Linked DNA regions of Homo sapiens: all the other regions are linked to region 1. The links are contacts of gene promoters, found by promoter capture Hi-C in human tissues and cell types (Jung and others, 2019). All regions are on one chromosome and are shown on one strand. The core of a region is centred on a gene start or on the middle of the fragment in contact, and the rest is flanking DNA. Distances in the headings are between cores, read along the strand shown. Region 1 holds the start of EID3 (EP300 interacting inhibitor of differentiation 3). Region 2 overlaps NFYB (nuclear transcription factor Y subunit beta). Region 3 has its middle 4.1 kb from the start of HCFC2.

The links. The method cuts DNA at HindIII sites, captures the fragments that hold promoters and counts their contacts. A contact is called where the count stands out against the background at its distance.
Region 2: a contact is called between a fragment that was not itself captured here and the fragment with the promoter of EID3 in region 1, in 3 of the 25 tissues and cell types used here (IMR-90 fibroblasts, dorsolateral prefrontal cortex and mesenchymal stem cells).
Region 3: a fragment that was not itself captured here is called in contact with the fragment with the promoter of EID3 in region 1 in 1 of the 25 tissues and cell types used here (hippocampus).

The regions. Positions count from the first base shown.
Region 1 is chr12:104,300,474-104,305,232 of GRCh38, forward strand. It overlaps EID3 (EP300 interacting inhibitor of differentiation 3), which reads left to right and starts at 3,266. Exons shown (of 1, transcript NM_001008394.3): 1 at 3,266-4,732. The coding sequence starts at 3,462. The coding sequence ends at 4,463. The region is part of intron 4 of TXNRD1 (thioredoxin reductase 1); the gene reads left to right. RefSeq lists enhancers at 525-694, 1,233-1,402, 3,194-4,066, 3,374-3,613, 3,644-3,703 and a silencer at 3,104-3,333. The HindIII fragment of the contact is 3,401 bases long and covers 1,248-4,648 here.
Region 2 is chr12:104,125,316-104,129,979 of GRCh38, forward strand. It overlaps NFYB (nuclear transcription factor Y subunit beta), which reads right to left. Exons shown (of 8, transcript NM_006166.4): 3 at 3,109-3,202; 4 at 799-929. It also overlaps the pseudogene RNA5SP370. Among named protein-coding and RNA genes, the nearest start is that of NFYB, 11 kb to the right of the region's middle. The HindIII fragment of the contact is 6,155 bases long and covers 1-4,664 here.
Region 3 is chr12:104,058,183-104,062,665 of GRCh38, forward strand. It overlaps a transcript of GLT8D2 not described here. Among named protein-coding and RNA genes, the nearest start is that of HCFC2, 4.1 kb to the right of the region's middle. RefSeq lists an enhancer at 4,383-4,483 and a cis regulatory region at 4,468. The HindIII fragment of the contact is 3,662 bases long and covers 1,351-4,483 here.

The DNA.
Region 1 (4,759 bases), core at 2,016-4,515:
TTTATCAGTAGTGCAGTTTCTTCTTTTTAAGCTTCATTTAAATAATTATTAGTAGCACTTGGACCTTAGGTTAGGAAATCACTGTTTAATGACTTAAAGATTAACCGGCATGGAAATCCCATTCTTTATATGATTGGGGAGAGTTATTGAACTTGAGATTGTTTTACTTTGTAGCAATGTCTAAAGGCAGATTTGTTTTGTTTTGTTTTGTTTTTGAGGCGGGGTTTCGCTCTTGTTGCCCAGGCTGGAGTGCAATGGTGCAATCTTGTCTCACCCGCAACCTCTGCCTCCCAGGTTGAAGTAGCAGGGATTACAGGCATGTGCCACCACGCCCAGCTAATTTTCTATTTTTAGTAGAGACGTGGTTTCTCCATATTGATCAGGCTGGTCTCAAACTCCTGACCTCAGGTGAGCCACCCACCTCGGCCTCCCAAAGTGCTGGGATTACAGGTGTCAGCCACCGCACCTGGCCTAAAGGCAGATTTTTAAAGGTGGAACATAATGCAAGTCTGCCTTTCTTAGGATGATCTAAGTTACATGTTAATAAAGTTCTTGGAGATCTAGCATAGAATGCATTCAGCACTGTAAATCACAACTTAATGTTTGCCTCGATATGCTCTGTTGCTCTGAGCAAGTTGTGTGGGCTGTTATCTCCTGAGAAATCCCTGTAAATGGTATTAGTAATACTTTATAAGCAGGTTGGGAGAATATAGTTTTCTAAGGCATTTTGAAATTCTTAGATGAAAGGGTCTTTATGTAGCAAATTGGTGTCAGCCTATTTTCCTTCCTCTGAGCCAGAAGAAAATAGGCACCATAGGGTGGGAAGGGTTGGCTTATCTGTTAGAGTTCTTTTGTAAGTAGCTTTTGTTGAATTTTTTTTTTGAGATGGAGTCTCGCTCTGTCGCCCAGGCTGGAGTGCAGTGGCGCGATCTTGGCTCACTGCAAGCTCCGTCTCCTGGGTTCAGGCTAGTCTCCTGCCTCAGCCTCCAGAGTAGCTGGGACTACAGGCGCCTGCAACCACGCCCGGCTAATTTTTTGTATTTTTAGTAGAGACGGGGTTTCACCGTGTTAGCCAGGACGGTCTTGATCTCCTGACCTCGTGATCCGCCCGCCTCAGCCTCCCAAAGTGCTGGGATTACAGGCGTGAGCCACCGTGCCCGGCTGCTTTTGTTGAATTTAAAGTGGATGTGAGAAGCTCCTAAGAATATCGTTCACTGTAAAAGCAGACTTTTTTGGATTTGGGTCTTGGAATTCTTAACTGTATTTTCACCTAAGATTTAAAACAAGTTCAAATACTAGTTTGTAATTGGCCAGACTAGGGACAGATACGATCCTTGAATGATCCTGGGTCTCAACTTACCTTTCTTTCATTTTTCCTTTATTTTAGAAGAGGGATAAGAACTTTTTCTGAAGAGCAGTCAACTTTTCCTTTCAGTGTGTAGGATTAATTCCACGAATCTGTGAACTTAAATCTTTGCTGCCAAATAACTTGCAGTAGATGCTGGGATAGTTTTAAATCTATTTTAAGTTATACATTCAGTACATAAGTGCATCTCCGTGTAAAAACAGCTATGTTTGGAAGATCTAAAACGCAGCTTTTGTTTTTGAGAAGCCAACAATCTAATAGGGTAGGATCATATATATGTACAACTAACCGTAATGCATGGTGTTTTGAAAAATGCACGTATCTCCCTGAATTACCCCTAGTTAATAAAATAATTGGGAGCAAATGGTAATATAAGGATTTTGGAGTAACTTAATACTACTAGATTTTGCTGTTTATACATTTACAAAAAACTTTCTGCTAATGCTAAAGAAATAGAACAAGTCTATATGCATAAAGGAAGGTAGGGCTAATTTACTTCCTGGTGCTATGAAACTGGCAATTGGACAGGTGCAATTGTGGGTGTCTTTTTTTTTTTAAGGTGTACCTGTTGCAGGTTTGAAAAGCTGTTGATGCTCATGGGTTGTTTGTGTGCATGTTCTCTTTAAAAACCAGATGTATTCATTCCCTTTTTTTTTTTTTTTTTTTTTGAGACGGAGTCTCGCTCTATAGCCCAGGCTGGAGTGCAGTGGCCCGATCTCGGCTCACTGCAAACTCCGCCTCCTGGGTTCACGCCATTCTTCTGCCTCAGCCTACCGAGTAGCTGGGACTATAGGCGCCTGCCACCGCGCCCGGCTAATTTTTTGTAGTTTTAGTAGAGACGGGGTTTCACCGGGTTAGCCAAGATGGTCTCGATCTCCTGACCTCGTGATCCGCCCGCCTCGGCCTCCCAAAGTGCTGGGATTGCAGGCGTGAGCCACCGCGCCCGGCCATTCCCATTGTTATGTATACTTTGCTATTTGCTGCTGGTGAGACAGATAAGGAGTCACGTCTTTAACTGCACTTGAGTTTCCAGTGACCCCATTAAATCCAATGGGTAAATTTTCCCACGCAGATTACTCACCCAGTTTACAGATTAAGCTTTCATATCCTTAGACTGTATCTGAAATTTTCATAGCTTTGCCCACCTTTTAGGGTTCAGAGTTACTACCCATTCAGTGTCGGTGGCCTTTAGCTGTTGGCAAGCTTCCAAGTAAATAGCTCTTTTGCAGAGATCTCTACCCATTCTATTCTTCCACTCCTGGGTAGTGGAGAACCAAAGTTCACCTGAGTAATGCCCGTGCCCAGCACCCAGTTTCCTGCAGGGGTTAGCACGGATATTGGAGGCTCCCCCGATCCCACAGATACTCAGGATGGGTATTGGAGGGGGCTTGGTTTTTAAGAGGACATGTGAAAGTAATTAACCCGATTTACATTTGTATAATGAGTCCAAACACCACCTTGCAAAAGAACTGAGAGTTTAGCCTGCTTAATGGAGTTTCTGCTTTTCACGGTCCTTGGCCTTACCGACGGTTTACAGTCCAGCCAGATTTAGTTCACAAAAAACCAAAACCAGGTCGACCTCACTGCAGTATATGATGGCAGCGAGCGTTTTAAAGCGCAGGACCTTTAGTCTCCTCAATAGTTTTGTGTAAAGTTGTCCAAAAGTGTTTTTTTTTAAAGTGAGGTGATCCAGTCGGTAAACGCTTTGAAAAAGAATAGCTGTCCCCTGAGCGGGCATTAGTCGCGTGTGAGGTCAGGGCCCATCATTGCGCGTGTTGGGAGCGCCGCGCTGGTCTATGAGCGAGCGCCTCGGCTTGTGGCTGGGCCGGGCCGGGGCGGGGCTGTCTTCCCGCGGAGCGTGCTGGGGGCGGGTCGCGCCGGGCCGGGCCGCTAGTGCGCATGGGCGGGCGTCCTCGGCTCTAACTGCCGCCACTTTCCACACGCTGGGAGGGCCGTTACCTCAGAGATACCCGTGGCCGGCATGTTGGTTGAAAAAGCTTCCCGGAAGGGAGACGAAGAGAAAGGAGAGGAGCAGCTCGTGATCATCCCCGGTAGCGAGTACGCGGCGAAGTAGGCGGCGGCGGAGGGAGCGCTGATGAAGATGGATGTGTCAGTGAGGGCCGCGGGCTGCTCCGACGACCTCAGCTCTGGGGAGGCCGACGTAGACCCAAAGCTCCTGGAGCTCACCGCTGACGAGGAGAAGTGCCGCAGCATCCGCAGGCAGTACCGGCAGCTCATGTACTGCGTGCGGCAGAACCGGGAGGACATCGTGAGCTCGGCGAACAACTCCTTAACCGAGGCTCTGGAGGAAGCCAACGTCCTCTTTGATGGCGTGAGCCGAACCAGAGAAGCAGCCCTCGACGCCCGGTTTCTTGTTATGGCTTCTGATTTGGGTAAAGAAAAGGCAAAGCAGTTAAACTCAGATATGAACTTCTTTAATCAGTTAGCATTTTGTGACTTTCTGTTTCTGTTCGTGGGTCTGAATTGGATGGAAGGCGATCCTGACAAGTTGAGTGATTGTGATGATAGCATAGCTCTTTCCTTCTGGAAGGCAATAGAAAAGGAAGCAACATCCTGGATGGTAAAAGCTGAGACATTCCATTTTGTTTTTGGTTCATTCAAGCTAGAACGTTCTGCACCAAAGCCCCGACTTGAACACCAGAAAAAAGTTCGCAAGATGGAAGAAAATGGCAACATGCCTACAAAGTTGCAGAAGTTGGACCTGAGTAGTTATCCAGAAGCGACAGAAAAAAACGTAGAAAGGATTTTGGGATTGTTGCAAACCTACTTTCGAAAGTATCCTGATACTCCTGTGTCCTATTTTGAGTTTGTGATTGATCCAAACTCTTTTTCTCGTACTGTGGAGAATATATTTTATGTTTCTTTTATTGTAAGAGATGGTTTTGCAAGAATAAGGCTTGATGAAGACAGGCTGCCAATATTAGAGCCGATGAATGTTAACCAAATGGGTGAGGGAAATGATTCCAGTTGCCATGGCAGGAAACAGGGAGTTATATCTTTGACTTTACAGGAGTGGAAAAACATTGTGGCAGCTTTTGAAATTTCTGAGGCTATGATTACATACTCCTCATACTAAAGATTTCTTAGTATAGCATCCTTTTTGTGTTTTTTTTCTGAAGTTAGATGGAGAGTAAAATGTAAACTGAAGCACATATTGTATCTCTTGTAAAGTGAAAAAGTATTTTCAAGAACATCAGACATTGTTTTACTGTGCAGCATATTTTTCTTAGTAATTTATAAGGTCATGATCTTCTGTTATTAAAACAAATTCACTGGCATATTTATGGGAACGTTTTATTGAATGCCCTTTAAGACTATTAATAAAAACAAGTTTTGGATACCAAATTAAGGGATATTTGATAATTTGCAAAA
Region 2 (4,664 bases), core at 1,423-3,922, 180 kb before region 1:
GGATGGGAGAAGTTACAGCTTCAGGCCGGGCACAGTGGCTCGTGCCTGTAATCCCAGCTACCAGGGGAGGCTGAGGCAGGAGAATCGCTTGAACCTGGGAGGTGGAGGTTGCAATGAGCCGAGATCACGCCACTGCACTCCAGCCTGGGCAACAAGAGCGAAACTCCGTCTCAAAAAAAAAAAAAAAAGTTACAGCTTCATACACCCAAACCTGATAGTTCTGACAACGTACCTATTTTTTAAAACAGTCGGGCCAGGCACAGTGGCTCATGTCTATAATCCCAGCACTTTGGTAGGCCAAGGCGGATGGATCACCTGAGGTCGAGAGTTCAAGACCAGCCTGACCAACATGGAGAAACCCCATTTCTACCAAAAATACAAAATTAGCTGGGCATGGTGGTGCACGCCTGTAATCCCAGCTACTCGGGAGGCTGAGGCAGGAGAATTGCTTGAACCTGGGAGGCGGAGGTTGCAGTGAGCGGAGATTGTACCATTGCACTCCAGCCTGGCCAATAAGAGTGAAACTCTGTCCCCAAAAAAAAAAAAAAAAAAAAAAAACAGTCTAAATTCTATTTTATCTGCCTCCAATAAGTGGGAGAGAGGAGAACATTTAGGGACATGACAGAATTGAAAATGGGACACTGTTCAGTAACTGTGTATGTAGACATGAAAGAAATATTTGATTTGCTGAAAGCCTGAATGATTGAAATCAACAGCTAACTGTACCCATGACCTATGAATTCATGTAGTTTCGTGTTTCCCTTGAAAAAACCTAGTTAAATTTCTCCTCTACGTTACCTTTCCCGTTTGAGGTATGGCATTTTTCATTATCCTAGCCACGTTTGCTATTGGAAGATATATATCTTGTTCTCTGAAACTTTCTTTTGAACCATTTGTGTCTTCATGATCATTCATGCTGTCCTCAGTATCTAAAGAAATAAAAATATTTAGGTGTAAAGCTTCTTATTATTTCTATTTCAAGATAGAAAAAACTACCAAAGTGATCCAGAATAAAATCATTCTGGTTCACCTCTTAACCATTATTTAGGGATTAGGATAGCAAGTCTCTTCATAATTTTTACAGAGCCAGAACTGAACTTTTTTTTTATTAATTTCAGACTCACTGCCTAGAACACTTTTTATCCTCAAATATACCTGCTAAAATCCTACTTGCCCATTCTCCAAAAATCTCAAATAACATCTCCATACCACCTTCAAAAATGATCTTTTCTTTCATAAAATGTAAGTGCTTCTCTATGCCTTTTCTCTTACACATTTTTAGAATTTTTATTATTCCTCATTTCTCCTATTAGATTTTTGCTACTTAATGTCACGAATCAGCTTTGTGTTTCCTACAGCTTGGTACAGCACCTTCCACAGAGTAGGTACTCATAAATATTTATTATACGACTTAGCTATAAAACTTACAGACCGTAACCTATGGCTCCTTCAATACTGCTAGATTAAGAGGTTGTATGTTTCTCCAAACCCAAGTTTATATAAACTCATTTATGTAAAAGTCTATATAAAACTTTTAAAGTTGATATAAAGTTGTCTTGTCTGTATAAAGTTTATATAAAATTCTTTAAAGAATGGAAAAACTGGACTTGATTATTACTGATCCAGTTGGCTTACTAATGTAACTAGTTTTTGAACAAAGCTAGAGCAGTGATCCAACTGTTCATACAAAAAGGGACTTTTCAAATTATATAAATTTAGCTATAACTGAAGCTTGCGCAGTACCAATAACATCCTTTTATGACTAAATGCAGTATCCTGTAAGTAAACTGCCCACTCTTCATATGTACTAAGTAAGGAGGCAAGGCACTTAAGTTGATTCAATTTACGTTTTTATGTGTTTAAAATGATGTTATCAGAATTAATTTATTTGAATATCCGTTTCAGGATGAAATTAATCCCTCTGGCAAGTTTCTTCTAAAAATATATCTCAATTTTTAAAAATTTTACAAATCAGGCCAGGCGTGGTGGCTCATGACTATAATCCCAGCACTTTGGGAGGCTGAAGCAGGCAGATCATCTGAGGTCACGAGTTTGAGACCAGCCTGACCAACACAGCGAAACCCTGTCTCTACTAAAAAAAAATTAGCTGGGCATGGTGCTGGGCGCCTGTGATCTCAGCTAACGGGCAGGCTGAGGCAGGAGAATTGCTTGAACCCAGGAGGCGGAGGTTGCAGTGAGCCAAGATTGTGCCACTGCACTCCAGCCTGGGCGACAGAGCAAGACTCCATCTCAAAAAAAATAAAAAATAAAAAAAAAAAAAAAATTTTTTTTACAAACCAAAATGCCACAAAAGTAAATTATTTCTGATAGGCCAACATAACACTGCCTTTTTTTTTTTTTTTTTTTTTGGAGACAGGGTCTCACTTTGCACTTTGTCACCCAGGCTGGAGTGTGCAGTGGTGCAAACATGGCTCACTGAAGCCTCTACCTCCCAGATTCAAGCAATCCTCCCACCTCAGCCCCCAGCCCCCTAAGTAGCTGGGACTACAGGTACATGCCACCAAGCACAGCTAATTTTTTAATTTTTTTGTAGAGGTGGGGTTTCACCATGTTGCCCAGGCTGGTCTCGAACTCCTGAGCTCAAGTGATCTGCCCACCTTGCCCTCCCAAACTGCTGGGATTATAGGTGTGAGCACCACACTGAGCCAACACTACCATTCTAATACCTGACATAGTTCAAAGTTAATATTGAATGAAAACCAAAAATAAATCATAAGTGCAAGAAATATAATAGCTAGAAATTTAACTCACCCTCTAAATAATTATTTTAGTTACCCTATCAATTGATTATAAATTTCTTATTTAACATTTAAACAGGAAGTCGATAACAAATTTTAAAAGAAACTGTACAGATTTTAGACAAGGTGTATTTTTATAGTAAAAGTCTTTTCAAGGACTCATTCTTTTGAAGACTATTTCTAATAAAAATAGCATGGTACGCCTTTTTAGACTTTCTCATTGAACCGTAACACAAGATTGTAAATTTTCCTATAAAGACACAAGTAGCCTAGAACACCATATTAATGAAATGTCCACTTTCTAACTTGCTTCAACTTGAGAATTTGGTTCTAATTGTGGCTTGCTTACCATCATGAGGCTGTATAACATAATGACTTCCTCCAATATAGTCTGCAGAGATTCCTAGTTGAGAAGCATCTGTTGTAGAACTGTCACCATCCATCTATGAGGAGAAAAACAGTTTTTCAATACTTTTCAAAGTACTAACAAACGTAACAGATTCAACACTTATAAACTGTCACAGGATGATGCATCAATTATACTTTTCATAGCCTTAAGCTTACTAAAAGAGAATTTATATTTCTTTTTTAAAAAATTAATTATTTTTTTGAGACAGGGTCTTACTCTGTGGCCCAGGCTGGAGTGCAGTGGCGTGATCACAGCTCACTGCAGAATCCACCTCCCAGGCTGAAGCAATCCTCCCACCTCAGCCTCCTGAGTAGCTGGACTACAGGCATGCACCACCATGCCTGGCCAATTTTTTTGTATTTTTAGCAGAGACAGGGTTTTGCTATGTTGCCCAGGCTGGTCTGGAACTCCTGGGCTCAAACAAACCACCTACCTCAGCCTCCCAAAATGCTGAGATTACAGGCATCAGCCACCGCAACCAGCCTATATTTCTTGATTTGGAAACTTTCCCACAATTTGTCCACGATTCAAGATTTCCCTATCCATCTTCCATAAGTGATATAAGCATAAGGCCAATAGCGACAAGGAAATGAATCTAAAGCATATGCCTCTTTCTTTTTAAGTGCATAATCTTCAAATATAGTACCACAGGCAACCCTGACTTACAACCTAATTTATCCCTGGAATGATGATCAGCTTAGTAAAGCTGTACACAGTGTCATGTACCTGTAGCCCCAACTGCTCAGAAGCTGAAGCAGGAGGACTGCTTGAGCTCAAGAGTTCCAGACCAGCCTGGTCAATGTAGTGAGAACCTGTCTCTTAAAAAAAAAAATCAGCTTAAGTCATCAACTGGAATTCACCTGTATCCATCACTTCCAGCTCTCCTGCTAAACCCTGATTTTCCTTTTGCTCCTGCTTGCGAACTTTCTTTGCTTTCTCATAGAAGTTCCAAAATAGACAATGTCTCCGTTCAAACTGTTACTTGGTATAAGAAGCATGCGGATTCTCTGCACAATTCTGTACCCAGGCAAGCCAAAAGTACACCCATGTTTTGAATGAACCCATAAACTCCTGATTCTAGTCAAAGGTTAATTTTCTCTCCCCCTGCCAAATCAGGGCCAGGTGTGGCTCATGCCTGTAATCCCAGAACTTTGGGAAGCCAAGGTGGGAGGATCACTTGGGCCCAGAAGTTCAAGATCAGCCTGGGCAACACAGTGAGACCCTGTCTCTAAAAAAAAACAAAAATTAAGAAATTAGCCAGGCGTTGTGGCATGTGCCTGTAGTCCTAACTACTTGAGAGGCTGAGGTGGGAAGATCACTTGAGCCTAGGAGGTTGAGGCTGCAGTGAGCTGTGATCACACCACTGCACTCCAGCCTCAGTGACAGAGTGGGGTCAGGAGGAGGGGTCAGGAAGATCTATGTATAAAGATAGGAAAATTACCTGCACAGACAAGAATAAGAGTTAAAATTCCTATTTTAAAAAAAGCCTGCTTAAT
Region 3 (4,483 bases), core at 1,932-4,431, 240 kb before region 1:
AAGTCTCCTGCAAGGGAACCCAAGATTGTGGAGAAGCTGGTTGTCTATGCCTTGATCTCACTTTTTACAGTGTACAGACTGTGAGTTGGGGGAAATTTTCATGCAGTTGGTGCCTGGCAGATTGTGGGGAGGGGATTACAGATATGGAAGTCTGATTCTCTTACCATCTGCTCAGAGTTTTTTAAACTTCTCTGTGGCCCCAGCAAATGTCTCATCCTCATATTTGAGTTCTCGGATATTGCTGGTGATAATTTCAGTGTTGAATATTAGTTTTGGGTTTTCCATTGGGGGGTGTGAAGCCAGATTGCTTCCTTGCTGCCACTTTGGAACCATATTATCTCATTTAATCCTTTGACTAACCCTAAGAAGCAGATGCTCTTATTATTCCCATTTTATAGACAAAGAATCTGAGGTTCAAAGAGGATAAATAATTTGACCAAGGCCATACAACTAGTTAAGTAGCTACAACCTATTGGGTCTTAAAGCCCTTGATCTTAACCCCAAATGAAACAGTCCAGGTAAATGACTCTGGTGGGTGTTTGATACGGAGGAGTGGGCAGAGAGGAGAGGAAGTAGTGAGAGATGAAAGTACCTTCTCTAACATATGCCTAAAAAGTCTAGAGCAGCACTGTCCAATAGAGCTTTCTATAACACAACAGATGCTCCCTTACCCAAGGGGGATACATTCAAAGACCCCCAGAGATGCCTAAAACCACGGATAGCACCAAATCCTATATACCTCTAACTAAGACAGCTACTCAATTACGAATGGGCAGGTGGCACATACAGTGTGGAAACACTGGACAAAGGATGATTCACATCCCAGGCAGGTAAGAGCGGGACAGCGCAAGACTTCATCATGTGACTCAGGATGTTACACAATTTAAAACTTACAAATTGCTTATTTCTGGAATTTTCCATTTAATATTCTCAGACTGCATTGACTGTGGGTAAGTGAAACCATGGCTAAAGAGGGATTCCTGTACATGTATAGAATACATAATATTTATATAATCTATAATAGAGAATTAATGTATCTATTCAACCCTGGTATACATGTAGGTATACATGGACTTCAGGATCCATCTTTTCTTGATCCTCCAGGACTTTGATCCACCAAATCCCAGCTCTTTCTGAACAGATCTACTTGCCCTATGGGATGTAATTTCCAGTGGAGCTGCTCTACTTCACTAAGTACTCAGGAAATTAGGCTTCTTCCAGCTCATGGTCCAAGATGGCTGCTCCAGTTCTAGCCATTACATCTACATTCCAGACAGCAGGAAAGAGTAAGAGAAAGGAAGCTTCCCTCCTCTAGAACACATTCTGGAATTATATATATTACTTTTGCTTACAACCCATAGGTCAATATTTAGCCACAGGCCACAACAAGTTGAGGGAAGCTTGGGAAATTAGTTTTTATTTAGAATGGTCATGTGCCCAGCTCAGAGTCCAGATTCTGTTACTGAAAAGAAAAGGAGAGCAGATCTTGAAGGAGAGTGGGTACAGTAGTCTGGGAAAGTTCTTATTTGTTTGTATTTTGTTTGTTTGTTTTTTTCCTTCCCAGCCTCAATAATGAGAGGCAGGCAAGGAGAAGGTTGGAAATGATTGCTGGTTGTGCTCTTCCGACCTTTTGTTTGCAACTGGATCCTTCTTCTGGGCCCACAAGTCTCACCATCCAAAATAATAACAATTTACACAGTACCTCTCTCTCCTTGCCAGCCATTGTTCTTTCTTTCCTTACATGGCCAAGTCTCTGTAAAGAATAGACTACACATGTTATCCGCATTTTCTAACTCATGCTTCAGTTCTCTCTGGCTTCTTTCCCTCCCACTCCATTGAAAACATTTTAATTCTAGGCCACTACTAACCTCCTAATTTGCAAATCCAACAGTTGCTTCTTCGTCCTCTTCTTCCCTGACCTCTCTGTGGCTTTTGGCTTTCCTTACCACTTCTGCCTCTATGAAACCCTCTTTGCCTGTGGCTTCTTTGACATCACCCTCACCCAGTTCCCTTTTAACTTCTCTGGCTACCTATTCTCTATTTCCTTCATGAGTGCCTCCTCTTGTCTTTACCCCATCAATGCTGGCTTCTTCAGGGTGCTATTTTCCATCCCTCTTCTCCAAACTCTCCTCCTAGGTTGTTGTTTCCAAACTACATTCTTGAAGTTTCAGAGATTGAAGGTACTTTACTGTGAAATGGGGACCTATTTTAGATGCCTCCCTCAAGGACAGATTACTCAAAACTGCTCTACTAAAACATCTTTCCCATTGGATTATGTACTTTGTCATAGATTGAATTGTATCTCCCCCAAAAGACATGCTGAAGCCTTAACCCGCTGTACCTATGAATATGACTTTATTTGGATATGGGATCCTTGCTGATATAATCAAGTTAAGATGAGATCACAGGATGAGCCCTAATCCAATATAACTAGTGAATTTATAATAAGAGGAGAAGAGGCTGGGCGCAGTGGCTCACATCTGTAATCCCAGCACTTTGGGAGGCTGATGCAGGAGGATTGCTTGAGCTCAGGAGTTCAAGACCAGCATGGGAAACATGGTAAAACCTCATCTCTAGAAAAAATTTAAAAACTAGCCAGGCATGGTAGTGCACACCTATAATCTCAGCTACTCCAAAAGCTGAGGTGGGAGGATCACTTAAGCCTGGGAGGTGGAGGCTGCAGCAAGCTGAGATCGCACCATTGCACTCCAACCTGGATGACAGAGCCAGACCTTGTCTCAAAAAGAAAAAAAAAAAAGAAGAGACAGACACACAGGGAGAACACCACGTGATGATGTGATGGAGTCAGAGACTGGAGTGATTCATTGACAAGTCAAGGGCTGCCATGGATTGACAGCTGCCACCAGAAGCTAGAAAGAGGCATGGAAGCATTCTTTCCTACAGGTTTTGCAGGGATCACAGCCCTACTGACACTTTGATTTCAGACTTATATATCCTTCAGAACTGTGAAACAAAACATTCCTATTGTTTCACAGCAGCCCTAGGAAACTAGTACACATTTCCTCATCACCCTGCAGCTCCCTATCTAAGCCACCAGTTATAGCTTGCAATCTCTTTTGTCTTAAAAATATTTTGCCTTAATTTTTCTCCTAGTTCAAGGGTACTTGGGCTTTCAAATATCATAGACTAGTTTTTTTAAATTTGAAGTTCAACATTAGGGTTGGAACGTTTGATTTTTTCCTTTAACCTTGTGCTATAAGGGCATTAGAAAAAAACTACCATCTAGGCACAAAACTCTCAGAACAAAGTACAGTTCTTTAAATTAAACACTTTGGGTTTTATGAAAAACTCACTGCTTTATTCCAACTCTTCCAGTTTTATTTCAAATCCATAAAAACTTTATTATGGCAACATTTAAGAGCCTCCTATGTTATGTATGTGACATAGAAAAATATTAATAGATAAATATTCATAACCTCTTTTCTGTTCGCAGACATCTTATTTCTCCCTCCCTTTCCAAATTCTCTTTGGACATATTATGAAATTGGGCTGGCCAGGCGCAGTGGTTCATGCCTGTAACCCCAGAACCTTAGGAGACCAAGGTGGGCAGATCACCTGAGGTTGGGAGTTCAAGACTAGCCTGACCAACATGGAGAAACCTCATCCCTACTAAAAATACAGAATTAGCCAGGCGTGGTGGTGCATGCCTGTAATCCCAGCTACTCAGGAGGCTGAGGCAGGAGAATTGCTTGAACCTAGGAGGTGGAGGTTGCAGTGAGCCAATATCGGCGCCATTACACCCCAGCCTGGGCAACAAGAGCAAAACTCCATCTCAAAAAAAAAAAAAAAAATGGGTTAATACTCAGTGAGAGGGAGAATTTAAGAAGCAGAAGCTAAAAAAAATAGTGAGAATTCCTTTTGGGGTTTTTGTTTGTTTGTTTGTTTTTTAGACTGAGTTTTGTTCTTGTTGCCCAGGCTGGAGTGCAATGGCACCATCTTGGCTCACTGCAACCTCTGCCTCCCAGGTTCAAGTGATTCTCCTACCTCAGCCTCCCAAGTAGCTGGGATTACAGGCATGCACCACCACGCCCGGCTAATTTTTGTATTTTTGGTAGAGATGGGTTTCACCATGTTGGCCAGGCTGGTCTCGAACTCCTGACCTCAGGTAATCTGCCCTCCTCGGCCTCTCAAAGTGCTGGGATTACAGGTGTGAGCCACCGCACCCGTCCTGAGAATTCCTTTTTAAAACATAGAGAGTTATCTCTCAAAAAAAGCTTAGATAGATGAGAAGGTGGAGAAGCATGCTGAGGTTTAAGGGAGTTGGGTGAATGAGGCATATAAGAGAAATTGAAAATGGTAAAATAAGAGGAAAAAAGAGTTTTAGGAAATTTACTATACAGTGTCTGTGTTCTCCTTTGAGTACCTCTTGAGAATCTGAGGTAGGGATTTAAATTGCTTTCAATTTTTTCTTCCACTGGACTTGTATCTCTTATTTATCTCTCTTTAATAAAAATAGAGATGG